5 separate regions of the Homo sapiens genome follow, and all the other regions are linked to region 5. Evidence: promoter capture Hi-C in human tissues and cell types (Jung and others, 2019). All regions are on one chromosome and are shown on one strand. Each heading gives the region's core, a stretch centred on a gene start or on the middle of the fragment in contact. The rest is flanking DNA. Distances are from core to core; before and after follow the strand shown. Region 1 overlaps CLIP1 (CAP-Gly domain containing linker protein 1). Region 2 overlaps KNTC1 (kinetochore associated 1). Region 3 overlaps RSRC2 (arginine and serine rich coiled-coil 2). Region 4 overlaps CLIP1 (CAP-Gly domain containing linker protein 1). Region 5 holds the start of CLIP1 (CAP-Gly domain containing linker protein 1).

Evidence for each region. The method cuts DNA at HindIII sites, captures the fragments that hold promoters and counts their contacts. A contact is called where the count stands out against the background at its distance.
Region 1: a fragment that was not itself captured here is called in contact with the fragment with the promoter of CLIP1 in region 5 in 12 of the 25 tissues and cell types used here (H1 embryonic stem cells, IMR-90 fibroblasts, aorta and 9 more).
Region 2: a fragment that was not itself captured here is called in contact with the fragment with the promoter of CLIP1 in region 5 in 2 of the 25 tissues and cell types used here (hippocampus and pancreas).
Region 3: a contact is called between a fragment that was not itself captured here and the fragment with the promoter of CLIP1 in region 5, in 2 of the 25 tissues and cell types used here (IMR-90 fibroblasts and spleen).
Region 4: a contact is called between a fragment that was not itself captured here and the fragment with the promoter of CLIP1 in region 5, in 5 of the 25 tissues and cell types used here (H1 embryonic stem cells, aorta, mesenchymal stem cells and 2 more).

What each region holds. Positions count from the first base shown.
Region 1 is chr12:122,324,056-122,326,755 of GRCh38, reverse strand. The region is part of intron 17 of CLIP1 (CAP-Gly domain containing linker protein 1); the gene reads left to right. Among named protein-coding and RNA genes, the nearest start is that of VPS33A, 59 kb to the right of the region's middle. The HindIII fragment of the contact is 8,257 bases long and covers 1-2,700 here.
Region 2 is chr12:122,531,883-122,534,624 of GRCh38, reverse strand. The region is part of intron 2 of KNTC1 (kinetochore associated 1); the gene reads right to left. Among named protein-coding and RNA genes, the nearest start is that of KNTC1, 6.0 kb to the right of the region's middle. The HindIII fragment of the contact is 6,906 bases long and covers 1-2,742 here.
Region 3 is chr12:122,506,288-122,508,987 of GRCh38, reverse strand. It overlaps RSRC2 (arginine and serine rich coiled-coil 2), which reads left to right. Exons shown (of 10, transcript NM_023012.6): 8 at 541-770; 9 at 2,065-2,154. Among named protein-coding and RNA genes, the nearest start is that of ZCCHC8, 6.7 kb to the right of the region's middle. The HindIII fragment of the contact is 4,115 bases long and covers 1-2,700 here.
Region 4 is chr12:122,343,627-122,346,326 of GRCh38, reverse strand. All of the region lies in intron 10 of CLIP1 (CAP-Gly domain containing linker protein 1), which reads left to right. Among named protein-coding and RNA genes, the nearest start is that of CLIP1-AS1, 51 kb to the left of the region's middle. The HindIII fragment of the contact is 6,248 bases long and covers 1-2,700 here.
Region 5 is chr12:122,421,222-122,423,937 of GRCh38, reverse strand. It overlaps CLIP1 (CAP-Gly domain containing linker protein 1), which reads left to right and starts at 1,269. Exons shown (of 26, transcript NM_001247997.2): 1 at 1,269-1,417. RefSeq lists an enhancer at 1-93 and silencers at 1,203-1,552, 1,573-1,972. The HindIII fragment of the contact is 23,258 bases long and covers 1-2,716 here.

The sequences.
Region 1 (2,700 bases), core at 172-2,671, 97 kb after region 5:
TTAAAATGTTTCAGCCTGAGCAAACCACAGCATCGCAGAAGCTGATGTAAGGTCTCCTCGGTTGTTGTTTGTTTTTTTGAGACAAGGTCTCACTCTGTCACCCAGGCTGAGTGCAGCGGCACAGTCATGGCTCACTGCAGCCTCAACCTCTCGGGCTCAAGTGATCCCCTTGCCTCAGCTTCCCAAGTAGCTGAGACTAAAAGCACGTGCCACTACACCTGGCTAATTTTTTATTTTTTGTAGAGACAGAGTCTCGCTATGTTGCTCAGGCTGGTCTCGAACCCCTGGATGCAAGCGATCCACCTGCTTCAGCTTCCCAAGGTGCTGGGATTGCAGGCGTGATTCATCGTTCCTGGCCAGTCTCACAAGGCGCTGGGGTTGCAGGCGTGAGCCACCATTCCTGGCCAGTCTCACAAGGCGCTGGGGTTGCAGGCGTGAGCCACCATTCCTGGCCAGTCTCACAAGGTGCTGGGATTGCAGGCATGAGCCACCATTCCTGGCCAGTCTCACTGATTTTGTTGGTTGGTTTTGTGCAAGAGTCATTGAGTTAAAAATGCCAGGACTGTTCCCCTCCAAACGTGTCTAGTATCTAATTTCAGTGGATCGTAATCAGTCCCAGACTCTTTGGAATAATCTAATGAAATCTACAGATATTTTTTCAGGAAAGTTTACGTGTGCACTCAACAAGGTTCCTGGAACCCATGAAGCCTCCTATTCCCTACTTTTAAGAGCCAGTGGGCTATAGCTGTGCTGCCTAATGTAGTAGCCACCAGCCATGTGAGGCCATTCAAATGTAAATTTGTAGCCAGTTCTGGTGGCTCACGCCTGTAATCCTAGCACTTTGGGAGGCCAAGGTGGGCAGATTGCCTGAGCACAGGAGTTTGAGACCACCCTGGACAACATCGTGAGACCGTCTCTACTACAAATACAAAAAATTAATTGGGTGTGGTGGCACACACCTGTAGTCCCAGCTACTCAGGAGGCTGAGGCAGGAGAATCCTTTGAGCCTGGGAGGCGGAGGCTGCAGTGAGCTGAGATGGTGCCACTGCACTCTGGCCTGGGTGACAGAGTGAGACTGTCTCAAAAAATAAATAAAAATAAAAACCTTAATATGGGAATATATGCGGTCTACATTATTTTCTCTATTTTTGTATATGCTTAAAAGAGGATCGCTTGAAACTGGGAGGCAGAGGTTGCAGTGAGCCGAGATCGCGCCACTTCCCTCCAGCCTGGGCCACAGAGTGAGACTCTGCCTCCAAAATAAATAAATAAATAAATAAATTTAAATTTGTTACATTTTAATTAAAAATTTAGCTCCTCAGTTGCACTCACCACATTTCAGGTGCTCAGTAGTCATATGGTCACCATGATGGGAGTGCAAATAAGAACATTTATATCAGCTGGGCGTGGTGGCTCATGCCTGTAATCCCAGCACTTCGGGAGGCCTAGGTGGGTGGATCACTTGGGGTCAGGAGTTTGAGACCAGCCTGGCCAACATGGTGAAACCCCGTCTCTACTAAAAATACAAAAATTAGCCGGGCACGGTGGCGGAGCCTTGTAATCCCAGCTACTTGGGAGGCTGAGGCATGAGAATAGCTTGAACCCAGAGGCGGAGGTTGCAGTGAGCCAAGATCGCACCATTGCACTCCAGCCTGGGCAATAGATAGAGCGAGACTCAGTCTCAAAAAAAAAAAAAAAAAATTATATCATTGCAGAAAGTTCTGGATAGCACTGGTATAGACACTGTGGTCAAATTATCTTATAATTCAGTAAATAAAAAAAAAAAACTATTCCTTTTAGTCAGCAAAGCCTAGAAATTAGGCTGTAGTTTTTAAGTTATATGTGATATTGGGACTAAATCACTCTCAGCCCCTCAGCTACCCTTAAGTAAGGTCCTGTGGTGAGTTTGGAAGGCAGTAGTTTATTTTCCCTTGTTATGCCCCTTCCTTTTTTCATTAAAATATACTGAGTTTTTGTACTTCTTTTAATTGTATTTTTAAAAATTGTTCTATGAATCCTTTCTGCTTTCAAAGTAATTTGATAATTGGAATGGCAGGAAAGAATCTTATGCCCTGATATTAAAATCAAGCTACTATTTTTATCTTCTAGGTAGCTACTGGGAATAATTTCACAAGTTGTTTCAAAGATAAAATAAGCTAACAGATACAGAAGCACTTTGCAAAACTACACTTTTGACTTACCTTTTTATGGGCTCTGTTTAGTTTCTTTCCCTTGTTATTCAGATAGTTTCTATAAAGTTTATTGTAGAAATTGTAAAGTTTTTATCATTTAGGTTACATTAAGTTATTTGGGCTTGCATTTGTCTGCTTGATTTCATTTTTGTTTCCATTCTTTCCATCTTTTGTTTCTGTAGTCGCTAACTTATTTGTTAACATCAGCCAAAAAAGAAATTGAACTAATGTCAGAAGAGCTGAGGGGTCTGAAATCAGAGAAGCAGCTTCTTTCTCAGGAGGGAAATGATTTAAAGTTAGAAAACGGTTCACTTTTATCCAAGCTTGTAGAATTGGAGGCCAAAATAGCTTTACTTCAGGGAGACCAGCAGAAACTGTGGTCAGTGAATGAAACTCTTAATTTAGAAAAGGAGAAATTCTTAGAAGAAAAGCAAGATGCCGAAAAGTATTATGAGCAGGAACATCTCAATAAAGAAGCTTTGGCTGTTGAGAGAGAGAAATTGCTTAA
Region 2 (2,742 bases), core at 214-2,713, 110 kb before region 5:
TATATGTGTTTAATAATACTTATCAATAGTATCATCAAATTCCCAAATATCCCACTTTAAAACTTGACAGGCTTTTTTTCTTTAGCCCCTCTATCTAATTAATCATCGAGTTTTTCTTTGTATGGTATATCTTGAATCCATCCAGGATCCTAAGTAGAAAAACAGTTCAGGATGAGCAGGAAGGGCAAAGGATTCTCATGTTCAAGTCCTTGTTTCCTCAGGATTGACTTTATGCTGCAGGAGCCAGGTATTAACATAATGAATTAATCAAGATTGGAATAAAGTCTTGGTGTCGTGGATACGCTAGGCAGGGGAACGGTGGTGAACTGTGAACTGGAGGGTCCATGCCCCCACAGACATGAAAGAATAGAGTCTACTTCACACCAGCCAGTGGGAAGCCTGGTGGGGATGCAGCACTGGCATGGCCATACCTCCCAATTCATCAACAGAAGCTGGATCTTTATGTGAAATGTTCTGATTTTTAAATATTGGCAGCTAAGCCAACATTTTTAAAAACAGTAGACAAGCCAAATCAGAGTCTCCAGTATTCAGTTTCTGTTGCCAAGAGCCTCCCACACATAGCTGTCTTGAAGCACTGGGACAGATTAGTGGTTGAGGAAGCTCAGTCCCTTACTAGCTAAGTGATCTTAGGCAAATGCATCAACTAACTCCATGTAAAAGAGTAACAATAATAATACCTACAAGGTTCACCTGAATAAAGATTAAACGAATTCACGTAAAGGGCTTATGAGAGAGCCCTGCACATAGTATATGCTCAATAAATGTTAACCAGTCCTATTCTTCCCTGACAAAATACAGCTAATCACCTCATTTTATGACTATTTCAAAAGTCATCTTCTCCAGGTGTAATCCTTGAAAATTCCCCAACATTCTGATCCCTCTTCTACCTTATTTTTTTCTTTATTTTGAGACAGGGTCTCCCTCTGTCGCTCAGGTTGGAATGCAGTGATGCCATCATAACTCACTGCAGCCTTAAACACCTGGGCTCAAGGGATCTTCGTGCCTCCCCAACCCAAGTAGCTGGGACTACACATGCACACCATCACACCTGGCTAATTTTCTTTTTCTTTTATAGAGACGGGGTTTTCACTGTGTTGGCCAGGCTGGTCTAGAACTCCTGGACTCAAACGATCCTTCCATCCCAACCACCCAAAGTGCCGGGAATACAAATGTGAGGCACTGCGCCCAGCCTCCTTCTTATCTTTTTACTTGCTTCTTCAACTAGTAAAAGGTTACATGAAGGCACTGCCAACAAGGAATGGCACTAAAATTAGCCGGGCGTGGTGGCGGACGCATGTAATCCCAGCTACTGGGGAGGCTGAGGCACGAGAATCACTTGAACCCGAGAGGCAGAGGTTGCAGTGAGCCAAGATCACACCACTGCACTCCAGCCTGGGCAACAGAGCAAGACTCTGCCTCAAAAAAAAAAAAAAGAAAAGGAACGGCACTATATCTTCTAGGGATCTGTCCACACTGTTCTCTCTAGACTCTTCTCTCTAGACTGTTCTCCTTCTTAAGGCCCAAAGCAAGTGTAGTTTATTTTAATTTTTATTTTTTTTAGAGATGTTGTCTCCCTATGTTGCCCAGGCTGGCCTCAAACTCCTGGGCTCACGCCATTCTCCTGCCTCAGCCTGAGTAGCTGGGACTACAGGACATGCCACCACACCGGGCTCACACATAGTTTCTTAAGGAAATGCTCCTTAAACTGCCCAACCGACAATGAGCTCTCCAGCCACTGAATTCCTACTCATTTACTGTCTGTACTGTTCATTTGGCATTTAGCATATACTGACTTGCACAGCTAAGCATCTTTTATTGTTTGTGTCCTGTGTGCCTAACTTTAAGGTAAGATCCTAAAAGGAATGAATAAGATGCCATCTTATGTCCAAGTTCCTAATATTGGGCTCAGAACATAGCAGATGTTCAAAACATGTTGGTAAGTGTATGCCACGTGCTAATAATAGATAGAATTTTAGTTCCTACCAGAATCCAAGATTCTATACACATGCACTATTATTTTTCAACAGCAACCTTGAGGTCAAGAAAGGCCTGAGCCACTTCCACGTTTTAAGGCTCCTGATAATATTAAAAAATAAAGCCCGGGCACAGTGATTCACACCTGTAATCCCAGAACTTTGGGAGGCCGAGGTGGGTGGATCACAAGGTCAAGAGATCGAGACCATCCTGCTCAACATGGTGAAGCCTCATCTCTACTAAAAACACAAAAATTAGCTGGGTGTGGTGGCTCGTGTCTGTATTCCCAGTTACTCGGGAGGGTGAGGCAGAAGAATCGCTTGAACCCAGGAGGCGGAGGTTGCAATGAGCCAAGATCACGCCACTGCACTCCAGCCTGGTGACAGAGCAAGAGTTCGTCTCAAAAAAAAAAAAAAAAAAAAAGAAAAATTAGCCAGGCGTGGTGGCAGGCGCCTATAATCCCAGCTACTCCAGAGGCTGAGGCAGGAGAATCACTTGAATCCAGGAGTGGGAGGTTGTAATGAGTCAATATCACATCACTGTACTCCAGCCTGGGCTACAGAGTGAGAGTCTCTCTTAAAAAAAAAAAAAACAAATGGCCGGGTGCGGTGGCTCAAGCCTGTAATCCCAGCACTTTGGGAGGCCGAGCCGGGCGGATCACGAGGTCAGGAGATCGAGACCATCCTGGCTAACATGGTGAAACCCCGTCTCTACTAAAAATACAAAAAATTAGCTGGGCATAGTGGC
Region 3 (2,700 bases), core at 99-2,598, 85 kb before region 5:
AAAGTAAATAAATGGGTTTTTTTTTTGTTTTGATACGGAGTTTCGCTCTTGTTGCCCAGGCTGGAGTGCAGTGGCATGATCTCGACTCACTGCAACCTTCGCCTTTTGGGTTCAAGTGATTCTCCTGCGTCAGCCTCCCGAGTAGCTGAGATTACGGGCATGTACCACCACGCCCGGCTAATTTTGTATTTTTGGTAGAGACGGGGTTTCTCCATGTTGGTCAGGCTGGTCTCGAACTCCCAACCTCAGGTGATCCGCCCACCTCAGCCTCCCAAAGTGCTGGGATTACAGGCGTGAGCCACTGCGCCTTGCAATAAATGGTTTATATATCAAGGGTTTATGTAGAAATATGTCCGTTGATGAACACAATAAATGTTTGCTAAAAACTTGTGAGCTAATACTCAGTCATTTCCTTGGATTTGGTGAAAATCCTGCCTTTTTGCACATTCATAGCTTTTTATAAATCGTTCGTTAATGTAAATCAGGAGGTTTATGTTTTAAAATCGTTTTAAAATCCATTTTTGTATTCTCTTCAAGCAGCTGCAGCTACTGGAGGTTCTGTTCTCAATGTTGCTGCCCTGTTGGCATCAGGAACACAAGTAACACCTCAGATAGCCATGGCAGCTCAGATGGCAGCCCTGCAAGCTAAAGCTTTGGCAGAGACAGGAATAGCTGTTCCTAGCTACTATAACCCAGCCGCTGTTAATCCAATGAAATTTGCTGAACAAGAGAAAAAAAGGAAAATGCTTTGGCAGGGCAAGAAAGAAGGGGTAAGTTCTCTTATTCTGCTTTTCTGTCGTTTATTCCTAATTAGTAATTGCTTAGAAAAACAAATTTGGGTTGAAAAATATTACTTTCGGCTTAACTTTGTAAGAACCTGGGGTGGCCAGACGCGGGTGGCTTATGCCTTTAATCCCAGCACTTTGGGATGCCAAGTGAGCGGATCAGTTGAGGTAAGGAGTCCAAGACCAGCCTGGCCAACATGGCAAAACCCTGTCTCTACTGAAAAGAAGATAAAAATCAGCTGGGTGTGGTGGCACACACCTGTAATCCCAGGTGCTTGGGAGGCTGAGGCAGGAGAATCGCTTGAGCCTGGGATGCAGAGCCTACATACAGTGAGCCAAGATCATGCCACTTAGCCAGGCATGGTGGTGGGCACCTGTAATCCCAGCTACTTGGGAGGCTGAAACAGGAGAATCACTTGATCCTGGGAGGCGGAGGTTGCAGTGAGTTTCCAGCGAAACTCCATCTGGAAAAAAAAAAAAAAAATCACGCCACTGCACTTCAGCCTGGGTGAGACCCTGTCTCAAAAAACTTATAATAAGCTATGATAGTCTTATTTGCCAGTTATTAATACTAAAATAAAACATAATTGATTGAAGTCAAGCTTTCAAAGAAAACTAATATTACCATAGAAGTAGTAAGGAAAAGAGGCTACTTGGTTTAGAATTTTTCATAGATTATGAGGTACTTTTTTTTTTTTGACATTATTTGCAATGACAAATGACATTAAATGCAAATGACATGCAGTCGCAAAAATTGCATGTTGAAAAAGGTCTATGACAGGAAAATAATCCATTTTTTTATTTTATTTTTATTATTTTTGAGACAGAGTCTTGCTCTTGTCACCCAGGCTGGAATGCAGTGGTGTGATCTCAGCTCACTGCAACCTCTGCCTCCCAGGTTCAAGCAATTCTCCTGCCTCAGACTCCTGAGACCCTCCTGGGTCTACAGGTGCCCACCACCATGCCAGGCTAGTTTTTTGTATTTTTAGTAGAGACGGGGTTTCACCTAGTCATCCAGGCTAGTCTCGATCCCCTGACCTCAGGTGATTTGCCCACCTCGGCCTTCCAAAGTGCTGGGATTATAGGAGTGAAGCACGGCGCCAACCTCTTGCTTGTATTTCTTTGCTTTGTGGTTTCTTAAGTCTTGAAATAATTAAACTTACATTGATTGAATGCTATCCATGGTGTTTTTTTTTTTAATTTAGACATTGTTGAGAGATTTCATGTCCTAAAAAATATTTAAATTTTACATATTTTAAAGTTCAGTGTTTGTTAACAGGACAAATCCCAATCTGCTGAAATATGGGAAAAATTGAATTTTGGAAACAAGGACCAAAATGTCAAATTTAGGAAATTGATGGGTATTAAGGTGAGTTTCACATGTGCCAGGGGATCTTTGTATTAGCTATTAGCCCTCCTGCACTGTTCTTCCCTCATTTTCTTAGTTCTGGTCTTTACTCAGGTGTCAGCGTTTTTGAGTTCTTTCCCACCACCTTTTGTGAAATAACAAGCAATCCCATTCTGAAACATTTCCATCTCCCCTACCCACTGTCCTCCCTACACACACACTTGGAGAGAGAGAGAGAGACGGGGTTTTGCTCTGCTTGCTCTGTCACTTGGGCTGGAGTACAGTGGTGCAGTCATACCTCACTGCAGCCTTAAACTTCGAGGCTCAAGCAGTCCTTCCACCTCGGCCTCTCAAAGCCCTGGATCACAGTTCTGAGCCACTGCGCCCAGCCTCCATCCCCATTTTCTACTTTACTTTCCTCTGTGGCATTTATACCCTGACATCTTCTACATATTATGTTTTTTCCAACCTACTAAACTGAAGTTAACTTTTGTTACACCCTGCTATATTCCAGACCTAGAAAGAACATTGCCTTGTCCTTTGGAGGTGTTCAATAATGAATGGAAA
Region 4 (2,700 bases), core at 134-2,633, 78 kb after region 5:
TTGCAGGTATTCAGTCTCAACACAACCCTAGGAGGTAGGGAATATTAGTGTCCCCATTTTACAGACAAGAACACTGAGGCGCAGAGAAGTTAAATAACTTGCCTAAGATAAAACAGCAAATAGTAATAATGGAGGCAGGATTTGCATCTAGGACATTTGGCCCCAGAGTCTGTGCTCTTAAGCACCACAGGATGGAGTCCGTCTATTATGGAAGTTGTTTTGTGCGTAAAGATTAAGAAATGGCCAGGCGCGGTGGCTCATGCCTGTAATCCCAGCACTTTGGGAGGCTGAGGTGGGTGGATCACCTGAGGTTGGGAGTTTGAGACCAGCCTGGCCAACATGGAGAAACCCCATCTCTACTAAAAATACTAAAATTATCCGGGCGTGGTGACACATGCCTGTAATCCCAGCTACTAGGGAGGCTGAGGCAGGAGAATCACTTGAACCTGGGAGGCAGAGGTTGCGGTGAGCCGAGATCACGCCATTGCACTCCAGCCTGGGCAACAAGAGCGAAACTCTGTCTCAAAAAAAAAAAAAGAAAAAGAAATAGTCACTTACATGTAAGATATGTAGTCACATACCCTTTTAAATCATGAATTTGTCTGTCAGTGACTAAATTGCCCAGATTCTTAACTTTAGAATTCCAAAAATTACTCTGTCTCTAATCAAATTTGCTATCCTGATTTTTAAAAAAATTTCTAGTGTTTGTAGAAATTTCTCTTGTTGAGAATTAATTGACTGATCTAAAAATCTAGACAATTTTTCTTTTCTAAATCATGTGTTTTTATTTTTTAAGAAGAAGGAACTATCGGCCTCTGAACTAAAGATTTCTCCTGTGTATTTGGTAAGAAAACAAAAAAAGAGTGGGCCAGGCATGGTGTTTCATGCCTGTAATCCCAGCACTTTGGGAGGCCAAGGCAGGAGGATCACCTGAGTCCAAGAATTCAAGACCAGCCTGGGCAAGGTGGTGATACCCTGCTTCTACAAAAAATAAAAAAAAAAATTAGCTGGGTGTGGTGGCTACATGGCAGGCTGAGGTGGAAGGATCTCTTGAGCCCAGGAGGTCGAGGCTTGCAGTGAGCCATGTTCATGTCTCTGCACTCCAGCCTGGGCAATAGAGCAAGACCCTGTTTCAAAAAAAAAAAAAAAAGTGGCAATTTGGTGCTGTTTCCTCATTAACTGAGAGCCAAATAATTGATCCGGGAAATACAATGGACTAATGAGATTGAGTTCCTTTAGTGTGATGGCTTTTGAAGTAATATATTTTTTTAAAACATGTAAACTCCTCTCCCGTATCTTAGTTTTGTCAGCAAACAATTTTGATGTTTTTTTTCCTGCTCTAGATAAGGCATTCAGTTACACCATGGTTTATCCAAGTATTTCAGTGTAAAGCTTATATCTTTCCATAACGAAGTATGTCTTCTGTTGATCCTCACTCTTGGGTTCCCAAGTGTTAAGATAACCAGCTACCCATGTAAGTTTCATATCACCTATGTTACTTTTTAGGAAGTGCTTTAGAATACTTTCTAGCCAATAAATCCAGTTTCCAAACAGTGTGCTTGGTGCTGTAGAGATGTTAGGAAGAATAAGAAATAATTTCTGACTTAATTCATGGTCTCAAACTAGTGGGAGAAGCAGACATACCACATAGTTTTGAATTAGGGCAGATTTTGGGAAATGAAAAATAAATTGCTGTACTTTATAGGGAAATGCCACGGAAAGTAAAATCACATTGGTATTTATTATTTTTACTTATTTTTTACTTGGCATTTTTCTCTACTTGACTGTTTTGTTGTAACTAAGAACCATTGCCCTATTGGGTTTAATGTATTTATGCTACAGACCTTGCAGCAATGGGGTTTATTAGTGTTTTGTGTTTTTTTTTCTTTTATTTAGCAAATTCTGCCAGATCCTGATGGGTTTATTAATGTTTTGTATGTTATTTTGACGTAACAAACTCTTGGACTCTTCCTTCCCCAGAAAATCATGTGTAAATGAATTAACATCTTTAACCTGATGAGTCTATAACCACGAAGCACAGCAATTATAGTCAGCTCTGAAATATTTAATTTTATTTACTTTGATTATGCAGTTTTGGAGACTCAGTGCTTTCTTTTCCTCTTCTCTTATGGGCATTTTAATCTTTATTGGTGTCACAGCCTGTAGGGTGGACAGAGGAAATGAAAGAAAACATATCTGTTATTTTCTGTCTCAAAGAAAGGCAGTGTGGGAGAGGAGTCTTAAATTCAGAAGAATATTTAACATTTTTTTGTAGAGATGGAGTTCTCGCTGTGTTGCCCAGGCTGATCTTGAACTCCTGGCCACAAGTGATCCTCTTGCCTTGGCCTCCCAAAGTGCTAGGTATATAGGCATGTACCACCTCACCCAGCCAATCACAGGAGTTTTGATCCTTGAAATATGGGACTCACTGCTGTTTTAAAATTATTTTGTTCCCTTTCATTTCCCAGATTAGTCCAAGAATTTTTGTGATGGAAGCTATTTTCCACACATCCTATGTACTAAATGGACTGCATAGCAGGTAGCAGAGGGAAGTAATTTTCTAGCAATGAAAGGGCACAGGTTAAGAAAGTGTTTTTCTAGCCCTGGGGTATTTATTTAAAGGAAGAAGATTCTTGGGTACTATCCCGGAGCTCAAATAGAATCGAAGTACATGGGAATAGGTAGAAACTTGCAGGTTAG
Region 5 (2,716 bases), core at 20-2,519:
CCTATGACATCTATGATTCCACAGCTTGCTGATTACAGCTGAAGACTGTTTAGATTAGGGGGTGAGGCGCGCCTTTCAGATTAGGAATATGGATATGGGATTTCAGGAGTACCACCACCACCTGACCTTGCAGCCTGTAAATTAGGGCGATGTTGAATTAGGTAACAGCATTTCGAGGGATTTCAGACATGAATGGAGAGGAGGGGCCAGGAGACAAATTTACATAGTTCAGAACTTCGTGCATTACCAGAGCAGTTCCCTCTTCCTGCTGGTCCAGGCAGCACGGTGCTTTGAATAAAGGTCAGCTAGAGGGGTCACCCGCCGATTATTCTCTTCTACTGGCAAGGAGGAGGAAGCCCCTGCCCCCTTATCCACCACAAAATCCTGGGCTTCCCCGACAGCTGCAAATTCCTCCCTGGAGATGTAAGGCTTCTGGGGTTGCCATGGTCCATGGGAGTGAAATGCTGGCCGCCCTCTGCTACCCCAGCCCCGAGCAGGCTGTTGCAGCCTTCCCTCCTGTCCCTTTCAAAAGCTTTTAAAGGAAATCCCAGGGGGGAAGGAGGATGGGACACTAACCAGGGCTTCCGTCCAAGCAGCCAGGGCGAATAAAAGGGGCTTTTCTCAAACGAACGGAGCAAACCCTGGGATCGTTTCAAAGGATTTTTAACCCGCGGTCGTTCCCGGAGGGAAGTGGGGAGCAGATACAGTTCTTCCCAAGCTTAACCTGCTCTACAGTTCCTTTCAGCATTTTCTCCAGGGACGCCTCATCCAGGGTCTTTCCCTGGAGGGAGGCGAGGGCAGAGATGATCCTTCCCAATCCCCAACTTAACCTGCTTCGGAAGCGCCTTGCAGCCTGTTTCAAAGGATTTCTCACCCTTGTCTGGCGGGAAGGGGAGGGCAAACAAATGAATCAGCCCCAAAGAGCGGGCTGAGGTCGAGGCTGAATGGGGCTCTTGGGTGTGACTTGCAAATTCTGGGAACACTTTGCAGAAATGACGAGAAGCCCCTCGGAGCAGGCCTGTGGGTTTTCCCTCGCACCTTGCTCCCCAAGCCGGGGCTCGGGAGGGTTCGAGGGCGGAGCGGCGGGCGCGCCGGGGCCAGGGTCCTCCCGGGGCCGCGGTGGGCGCAGACAAAGAGGCGGCGGGGCGGCGCGGGGCCGGGCGCGGGCCGCAGGGCCGGTGCGGACTCGAGGGGCCGGGCCGGCCGGGCCGGCCGGGCGGGCGCGGCGGCGGAGCGCTGGGAGGAGCCGCGCGGCGTCTTCTCCTGGCAGCGCGCGCCCGCCCGGCCCCGCGGCGGCGGCGGCGCGTCACGCTCTCCCCCGCCCCGAGCCGACGAGCCGGGAGGCGGGAGGCGGCGGCCGCGGCGGCTGCTGCTGCTGCAGTGGGACAGGTGGCGGCGACCGGCGGCGTCCGAGGAGGTGAGCAGGGGGCGGCGCGGGCCCTCTCCCTTTCCCGGCACCCCCTGCTCCCCTGCCGGCTTCCCGGCCTGCGGGGCCCGCCCAGGGTCGGGTCGGGGGTCGAAGCCCGGCGTCCGGGAGCGGGGCCGAGCCTCGCGCGCCGGAGCCGTCCGGGAGGGGACCGCGGGAGTCTCGGGTGGCCGGCGCCGGAGGCCGGGGGTCCCTGGGGGGCTCCTCCGGAGCTGGAAAAGTGGCGGCCCTGTCAGCGCCGAGCCGGGCCTTCGCTTCCTCCGCCCGCCTCAAGATGGAGCTTGGACTCCTTGCCCCTGCGCCGCCCCAGGCGCCGCTCTCTCCCTGGCGCCCCGCTCCCTCTCCTGGGCCCCGGGGCGGATGTGGGATCGGCCGGACCCCGGGAGGCCGAAGCCGGGCGGGACCTGTTGCCCCGGGCGCCGCGCCTGTCACCTGAGCATTCCTCAGGCCCCGGGTGCCCGGCGCCCGCGATCCGGCATGGAGGGCACCCTGGCCCGGCCTCCCCCGCTGCCCCGGCTTTTGTTTTCCTCTCAAGTGGGGCTGTGATTCTCGGAGACCGGGGAAGGCTGGAGGTGGCCAGATCGCTCTCGGGTTTCCGAAATCACACCGCTGCCCGGTAATCCGAACCTTCTACCGCGGCAGGGGATTGGCGCGGAAGGCAGATGACACTTGTTCAGAGGTTATTTTACAAGCAGAACCTAGCGATTGCCCGAATTGGAAGGTCCTGCCTTTCAAAAATCGGGTTTTGATTCGGGGGTGAATCCTGAATCCGGCTGTTTCTCCACTTCATGTGGCTTTTCCATCTGGCAGGAGCCGAGCGCCACCCCCTCCTCCCTGCACAGCCCCACCTCTTTGGTATGAAGAAATTACACGTTGTCCGTCATCGGTTTAGATACCTGTTTTTAGCAAAACTTGGGCGCCAGTGAACTGTTTTTTAAAACAAAGGGTGGAGAAGATTCTGTAATTGTGTGTGTGTGATTCAGCAGCCTGGCCTTCTTCCTCTTTTAGGACAGTGGCCCCTAGCAGCTCTATAAGTATTAAGTGCTGTGGCCACTGCTGTCATTAGGGTTATGATTCTGGCTGTTCTTATTATTTGATTTGTGTCACTACTGTTAGCGATGGTATCCACGAATCAGGAGAGTATCCCAGAGTCAGGAATGTGTTTGTTTGACTTTTAGATTTAATGATAACCTTTAGCAAGAATCCCCAGGCATGTCGCTTCTCAGACTTGGGGCCTTTTTTTCTCTGTAAATTATAACAATGAACATTTATTGAAGGCATCTTGTGGCC